Regions from separate parts of the Homo sapiens genome. Here region 2 is linked to region 1. Evidence: promoter capture Hi-C in 16 types of primary human blood cells and fetal thymus (Javierre and others, 2016). All regions are on one chromosome and are shown on one strand. The core of a region is centred on a gene start or on the middle of the fragment in contact, and the rest is flanking DNA. Distances in the headings are between cores, read along the strand shown.

Evidence for each region. Contacts are between HindIII fragments. The CHiCAGO score rates a contact against its expected background, and 5 or more counts as called.
Region 2: a contact is called between a fragment that was not itself captured here and the fragment with the promoter of TMEM270 in region 1, in 1 of 17 cell types (M2 macrophages). The highest score is 5.8, in M2 macrophages.

Annotation. Positions count from the first base shown.
Region 1 is chr7:73,859,572-73,863,525 of GRCh38, reverse strand. It overlaps TMEM270 (transmembrane protein 270), which reads right to left and starts at 2,367. Exons shown (of 3, transcript NM_182504.4): 1 at 2,260-2,367. The coding sequence starts at 2,331. The HindIII fragment of the contact is 5,367 bases long and covers 1-2,533 here.
Region 2 is chr7:73,953,313-73,957,659 of GRCh38, reverse strand. No RefSeq gene overlaps it. Among named protein-coding and RNA genes, the nearest start is that of ELN, 73 kb to the left of the region's middle. The HindIII fragment of the contact is 6,290 bases long and covers 1-4,347 here.

The DNA.
Region 1 (3,954 bases), core at 1,118-3,617:
CCCAGCTACTCGGGAGGCTGAGGCAGGAGAATTGCTTGAACCCAGGAGGCGGAGGTTGCAGTTTGCCCAGATCGTGCCACTGCACTCCAGCCTGGGTAACAGAGTGAGACTCCATCTCAAAAAAAAAAAAAAAGAATTCCAGATTTCTGATCTGGGTGGTGAGTTGGACAACGGTGTCTCCCATTCACTGAGATGAAGCTGCAGGACTGGGGTGAGGTGGGGGAAAGCTGTTCTTGAGTCCTGGAGACCCTTCATCAGAGCTGGAAAGCCCCCAGCCCTTGAGTGACACCAATCCACCCACCTGGACCCCCCATCCCCGTGTCCACAGGCCCCACCATCTGAGATTGGCTGCAAGACCCCCCACTCACGGGCTGGATTTGCAGAGCTTGGGACGTGGAGGGTGGAGCTATGCTGAGACCAAAGGGTCCAGCAGGGAGAAGAATTAGGGTAGAGCTAGGAAATAGGACCTCCCAGGTTATGGTGCTGAGACCAGGGAGGAGGGAAACCTATGATATCCCACATGATCCCACAAGATCATTTCTATAGGAGAGGAAACGGGCTCAGAGTGGTGAAGTGATTTGCCCAAATTCACACAGCTAGAGGGTAAAACAGCCAAGATGCAAATCTTTTTTTTTTTTTTTTTTTTTTTTTTTCTGAGACAGGGTTTTGCTCTTGTTGCCCAGGGTTGCCCAGGCTGGAGTGCAATGGTGGGATCTCGGCTCACCGCAACCTCCGCCTCCCAGGTTCAAGCGATTCTCCTGCCTCAGCCTCTTGAGTAGCTGGGATTACAGGCATGCACCACCACGCGTGGCTAATTTTGTATTTTTAGTAGAGACAAGGTTTCTTCATGTTAGTCAGGCTGGTCTGGAACTCCTGACCTCAGGTGATCTGCCCGCCTCGGCCTCCCAAAGTGCTGGGATTACAGGTGTGAGCCACAGCTCCCGGTCCCAAGATGCAAATCTAATGGTGTCTGTCTTTCTCAACTGCCCCCTGTTATATGATCTTGGCTGACTGCAGCCTTGGCCTCCCAGGCTCAATCTATACTCCCACCTCGGCCTCCTAAGTGTGACTGAGTTGTGACCCCGACCACAAGCATGTGTATGTTTAAAAGAGATGAATGGGCCAGGTGCGGTGGCTCACACCTGTAATCCCAGAACTTTGGGAGGCCGAGGTGGGTGGATTACGAGGTCAGGAGTTTGAGACCAGCCTGGCCAATGCGGTGAAACCCTGTCTCTACTAAAGATACAAAAAATTAGCTGGGCGTGGTGGCGCACGCCTGTAATCCCAGCTACTTGGAAGGCTGAGGCAGGAGAATTGCTTGAACCTGGAGGTGGAAGTTGCAGTGAGCCGAGATCGCACCATTACACTGCAGCCTGCGCGACAGGGCAAGACTGCATCTGAAAAAAAAAAAAAGAGAGAGAGATGAATGAGCCAGGCGCAGTGGCTTATGTCTGTAATCCCAGCACTTTGGGGAGCTGAGGCGGGCAGATCACAAGGTCAGGAGATCGAGACCATCCTGGCTAACAGGGTCTCTACTAAAAATACAAAAAAAAAAAAAAATTAGCCAGGGATGATGGCACGTGCCTGTAGTCCCAGCTACTTGGGAGGCTGAGGCAGAAGAACTGCTTGAACCCAGGAGGCAGAGGTTGCAGTGAGCCGAGATCGCACCACTGCACTCCAGCCTGGGCAACAGAGCGAGACTCTGTCTCAAAAAAAAGAAAAAATGAATGGGAAAAACAATGATTCACCCATAGGAGTGACCCTCAATAGAGAAAATGCTGCCAGGTGCGGTGGCTCACACCTATAATCCCAGCACCTCAGGAAGCTGAGGTAGGAGGATCATGTGAGGCCAAGAGTTGGAGACCCGCCTGGGCAACGTAGTGAGACACCATCTCTACAAAATACAAAAATTAGTCAGGCGTGGTGGTGCACACCTATAGTCCCGGCTACTTGGAGGCTGAGGGGGGAGGATTGCTTGAGACCGGGAGTTGGAGGCTGCAACGAGCTGAGCCGGCACCACTGCGCTCCAGGCTGGGCGACAGAGCGAGACCCTGTCTCTAAATAAAGAAAAGAAAAGAAAATGTCAGCACTGTAGTTTGGAGTGGGGCTTCTGGGAGATGTCAGATTATTCTGGAAGGCAGGCAGCCACCTCGTTCCACTGGATGGGACAGGCAGGGCTTGGGCCCGGCAGCTCTGAGGTGGCTCTGTGAAGGGCCTGGTGTGTGGTCCCCACCCCACTTACCCCCAGCCCCCACTCACCAGCACTGAGAGCCTCGTAACCTGCAACAGGATCCCCAAAAGGCTGGATCTGACTGGAGGAAGGGCCTCCATGTCTGGCCTCCCCCACCTACTCCAGCTGGGAGAAGCAGGGTGACCTCACAGATGCCACAGGGTGGGGACCAAGTTACCATGGGGACCCGGTTGCCGCCAGTGACCCACTGCCTTTACCTGGCTCCTGCCGCTCCACTGCTTCCTCTGAAACCTCAGTCCACGTCTGAGCCCAACACGGCCAAGGAGGTCTTAGAGCAAAGCTTCCTTCGGGTCGGATTTCCCCAGATCTTGGAACAGGAATCAAGTGCCGCCTAGGAACGGGGTTCATGCCTGGATTCCCAATGCTTTGGGAGGCCAAGGTAGGAGGATCGCTTGAGGCCAGGAGTTTGAGACCAGCATGGGCAACATAGCAAGACCCTGTCTTACAAAAAAACAAAAAAAGAAAAAAATTAACCAGCCTTGGTCATGCACACCTGTAGTCCCAACTACTCAGGAGTCTAAAGTGGGAGAATCGCTTGAGCCCAGGAGATAGAAGTTGCAGTGAGCCAGGATCACTCAAGCCTGGGTGACAGAGCAAGACCCTATCTCTAAACAAAGAAAAAAAATTGAAGGGTGATGAGTTTATTTGGGGAGTGGGCCCTGCAAGCATCCATAGGAAGTCAGAAAGTGAGGCAAGGGGCCAGGCACAGTGGCTCACACCTGTAATCCCAGCACTTTGGAAGGCCGAGGCAGGCAGATCACGAGGTCAGGAGTTTGAGACCTGTTGGGAACAGGCCCCCAAAATCTGGCCATAAACTGGCCCCAAAACTGGCCATAAACAAAATCTCTGCAGCACTGTGACATGTTCGTGATGGCCATGACACCCACGGTGGAAGGTTGTGGGTTTACCGGAATGAGGGCAAGGAACACCTGGCCCACCCAGGGCGGAAAACTGCTTAAAGGCGTTCTTAAACCACAAACAAGAGCATGAGTGATCTGTGCCTTAAGGACATGCTCCTGCTGCAGATAACTAGCCAAACACATCCCTTTATTTGGGCCCAATCCCTTTGTTTCCCATAAGGGATACTTCTATGGGAATCTAATCTAATCTATAGTTAATCTAATATCTATAGAAACAATGCTAATGACTGGCTTGCTGTTAATAAATACGTGGGTAAATCTCCGTTTGAGGCTCTCAGCTCTGAAGGCTGTGAGACCCCCTGATTTCCCACTTCACACCTCTTTATTTCTCTGTGTGTGTGTGTGTGTGTGTGTGTGTGTGTGTGTGTGTTTAATTCCTCTAGTGCTGCTGGGTTAGGGTCTCCCCAGCCAAGCTGGTCTCAGCAGAGACCAGCCTGACCAACATGGTGAAACCCCGTCTCTACTAAAAATACAAAAAAAAAAAAAAATTGGCCTGGCATGGTGGCGTGCACCTATAATCTCAGCTGCTCAGGAGGCTGAGGCAGGAGAATTGCTTGAACCCAGAAGGCAGAGGTTGCAGTGAGCTGAGATCATGCCACTGTACTCCAGCCTGGGCAAGAGAGTGAGACTCTGTGATAAAAAGAGGGAAGGGGAGGGGAGGGGAGGGGAGGGGGAGAGAGAGAGAGAGAGAAAGAAAGAAAGAAGAAAGAAAGAAAAAGAAAGAAAGAGAAAGAAAAAGAAGGAAAGAAAGAAAGAGAAAGAAAAGAAAGAAAAAGAGAGAAA
Region 2 (4,347 bases), core at 631-3,130, 95 kb before region 1:
ACAAAACTCTTAGAAGAAAAGATAAGTATAAATCTTTATGACCTTGAGTTAGGCAATGGTTTCTTAGATATGACACCTAAAGCACAAGTAATAAAAGAAAAAATTCATAAATTGGAGTTCATCAAAATTTAAAACTTTGTATTCTTTTTTTTCTTTGTTCCTTTTTTGTAAGGACAGGGTTTCTGTTCTTGTTTTTTTTTTTTTTTTTTTTTTTTGAGATGGAGTCTTGCTCTGTCACCCATGTCACCCAGGCTGGGGTGCAATGGCGCAATCTCAGCTCACTGCAACCTCAGCCTCCCAGGTTCAAGTGATTCTCCTGCCTCAGCCTCCCGAGCAGCTGGGATCACAGGCACGCACCACCATGCCAGGCTAATTTTTGTATTTTTAGTAAAGACGGTGTTTCACCATGTTGGCCAGGCTGGTCTGGAACTCCTGACCTCGTGACCCGTCCACCTCAGCCTCCCAAAGTGCTGGGATTACAGGCGTGAGCCGCTGCGCCCAGCCCCTGAGACAAGGTCCTATTCTGTTGCCCAGGATGAAGTGCAGTGAAGTGATCATGGCTCCCTGCACCTTGAACTCCTGGGCTCAAGTGATCTTCCTGCCTAGCTGGCACATCATCAGGCATATAGGCATGTGCTACCATGCCCAGGTAATTTTTTTGATTTTTTGTAAAGATGGGGAGCAGGGGGCGGGTCTCATTATATTTTCCAGGCTGGTCTTGAACTACTGACCTCAAAGTGATCCTCCCACCTCAGCCTACCAAAGCACTGGGATTACAGGCATAAGCCACCCCACCTGGCCAAAAACTTTGTTTCAAAGCACCCAGAAAATGAAAAGACAAACCACCTAATTTTGTGTTTTTAGTAGAGATGGGGTTTTACCATGTTGGCCAGGCTGGTCTCAAACTGCCGAACTCAAAAGATCCGCCCGCCTCAACCTCCCAAAATGCTGGGATTACAGGCATGAGCCACTGTACCCAGCCTAAATTAAGGATCTTGAGGTGGAGAAATTATCCTGGATTATCTGGATAGGTCCCATTGCAAAGTTTCTCGTAAGCGGGGAGGCAAGAGGGTCAGAGTCAGAAAAAAGAGATGTGATAATGGAAGCAGAGATTGATACAATGAGATCAAGAGCCAGAGCAAAGGGGGTGGGATTTAGGCCGGGCTTGGTGGCTCACACCTGTAATCCCAGCACTTTGGGAGGCCGAGGCCAGCGGATCACTTGAGCTTGTGAGTTCAAGAGCAGCCTGGCCAACCTGGTGAAACCTCATCCCTACTAAATATACAAAAATTAGCCACGCGTGGTGAGGCATGCCTATAATCCTAGCTATTCGGGAGGCTGAGGCAGGAGAATCACTTGAACCCGGGAGGTGGAGTTTGCAGTGAGCTGAGATTGTGCCACTGCACTCCAGCCTGGGAGACAAATAATAATAATAATAATAATAATAATAATAATAATAATAATAATGACTTTCTTTTTAAAATTTCAGTTCCCACTGTTTGAGCTAGCATATGGAAATTCAATTGACACTTTGTTCTGCTAACTTATTAGTTCTAGTAGCTTATTTCCTATTTCCTAGGATTTTCTACATAGATGATCATGTTGTCTGCAATAAGGACAGTGTTTCTTCCTCCTTTCCAATTGGTATGCCTTTTATTTTTTCTTCTTTTATTATTGCACAAGCTAGAACCTCCAGTACCATGCTAAATGCAAACAGCGAGAGTGGACATGTTTGCCTTGTTTCTAATCTTAGAGAGAAATCATTCATACTTTACCCATTAAGACATTAGCTTTAAGTTTTTGTAGCTATATTTTTTGCCGTTGAGACAGTCCCCTTTTATATTTAGTTTGCTGAATTCTTTTTTTTTTCTTTTTTTAATTATCAATGGGGCATGCACGGTGGCTCATGCCTATAATCCTAGCACTTTGGGAGGCTGAGGAGTGGATCACTTGAGGCCAGGAGTTCGAGACCAGCCTGGCCAACATGGCAAAACCCCATCTCTACTAAAAATACAAAAATTAGTTGGGCATGGTGGCGCCTTCCTGTAGTCCTAGCTACTGGAGTGGCTGAGGCACGAGAATTGCTTGCGCCTGGGAGGTGGAGGTTTCAGGGAGCCGAGATCACACCACTGCTCTCCAGCCTGGGCAATGGAGCAAGACTCTCTCTCTCTCAAAAAAAAATTATAATAATGAATGGATTCTGAATGTTATCAAATGCTTCTTTTCTGCAACTATTGAGATGATCATGCATTTTAAACCTTTCTTCTGCTAATATATTGCGTTACATTGGCTTATTTTTGTTTTCTTTGTTAAAGCAACATTGTATTTCTGGAATACATTTCACTTGACCTTGATATTTTATCTCTTTTATTTATTGGGTTTGACTTGCTAATCTTTCTAAAGCATTTTTGCATCTTTTTCCATGAAGGCTGCTGGTCCATATCAGGGACCAGCAGACCTTGTTCTGTAAAGAGTCAGTAAATATTTGAGGCTTTGCAGGTCATATAATTTCTGCTATAACTACTCAACCACTGTAATAGGAAAATAGGAAGAGACAGTATGTACTTTAATAATTGTGGCTGTGTTTCAATAAAACTTTATTTACAGAAACAGATCGTAGTCTGGTTTGGCCCCACAAGCCATGGTTTGCTGACTCCTGGTCTATTTGTTAGGTGTTTGGTTTTGGTATCAGAGTTAACACTGGCCTGATAAAATTACTTAGGAAGTGTTCTCTTCTATGTTTTCTAAAAGTTTTGGTGGGATTCGTATTACTCCCTCCTTAATTATTTGATAGGATTTACCAGTTGAGCCATCGGACCTGAAATTTTTATCAGAAAGATTTACATAAAAAATTAAAATTTTGGCCAGGCATGGTGGCTCATGCCTGTAATCCCAGCACTTTGGGAAGCCGAGGTTCTTGAGGCCAGGAGTTTGAGACCAACCTAGGCAACACAGCAAGACCCCATCTCTACAAAATATATATAAAAATTAGCTGGGCTTGGTGGCGTGCACCTGTGGTTCCCAACCACTCAGGAGGCTAAGATGGTAAACCAGGTACAGACAGAAAGAGCTCTAAGAGAAGCTCTCTATTGGTGGTTCAGGGTCCCCTGAAGATCAGGAAGAATGGAGACAGCCCCAGTTTGTGTTTTGTGATGTTGTTTTTGTTGGTTGGTTGGTTTTCGGTGTTAATTGCCATTCCCTGCTGCCCCAGCTTCCAGGCAATCCCATGACACGGTGAGACAGGCAAAAGCAGTTGGAGAGCCACCAAATGTTTTGAGAGGGAACACTTCTCTCAAGAGTCTGTGGCCCAAGACTGCTGGAGGGGTTCCTGTTGCTGTCTTTCTCTCTATGCTCTTGCCACTTGGCACTGCAGAAAGACACAGTCATAAGAAGTATGTGGCAGAGCAGAGAAACTGAAGCCCTGGCTTTATAGAGGACTACGGAGGGGCCCTTGGGGGCTGAAAAGTGTCAGTGAAATTGATGAGAAGAGGGAGCTAGAGATGACAATTTGATAAACAATTTATATAAACTCCTCTGCTCACCCCTGAGCTGTGTGTGTGTGCATTTGACCCTAAACAGCACAGGCTTTCAGAAAGAAATTACAGGACGGACCACTCCCCAGGTTCCAGGCTGGCCACTGCATGGTAAAAAAAAGAGATTTGCTCATCTTTTTAAAAAGACTTTTTTTTTTTTTTTTTTTTTTTACTCAGGACATATCTGAATAGTACTGCAAAGTATTTGGGAAGTAAACTGACATTGTAACAACAGCTCACAGAGTGCAGGTAGGAAGTTGCAGCTTGAACCTAACCAAATTCATTGTCTTTTTTTTTTTAAATTAAACTTCTCCATAGCATTTAAGCAAGACTCAGAACCACATAACAATATGTTTGAGACATCCAAAGCACAATTCAAAATTATCCAATATATAAAGAACTAGGAAAATCTAAACATCTTACATGGAAAAAGATAATTAACAGATGCCAACCACAAGATGGCACAGATGTTGGAATTATCAAACCAGGATTTTAAAGTAGCTATTTAACTATTTTTCTTTTTTTCTTTTTTTTTTTTTTGAGACAGAGTCTTTCTCTGTCACCCAGGCTGGAGTGTGCAGTGGCGCGATCTTGGCTCACTGCAACCCCTGCCTCCTGAGTTCAAGCAATCCTCCCACCTCAGCCTCCTGAATAGCTAGGATTACAGGTGTGCACCACCATGTCTGGCTAATTTTTTTTTTGTATTTTTAGTAGAGACGGGGTTTTACCATGTTGGCCAGGCTGACCTCAAACTCCTGACCTCAGGTGATCCGCCCCCCTCAGCCTCTCAAAGTACTGGGATTACAGGCATGAG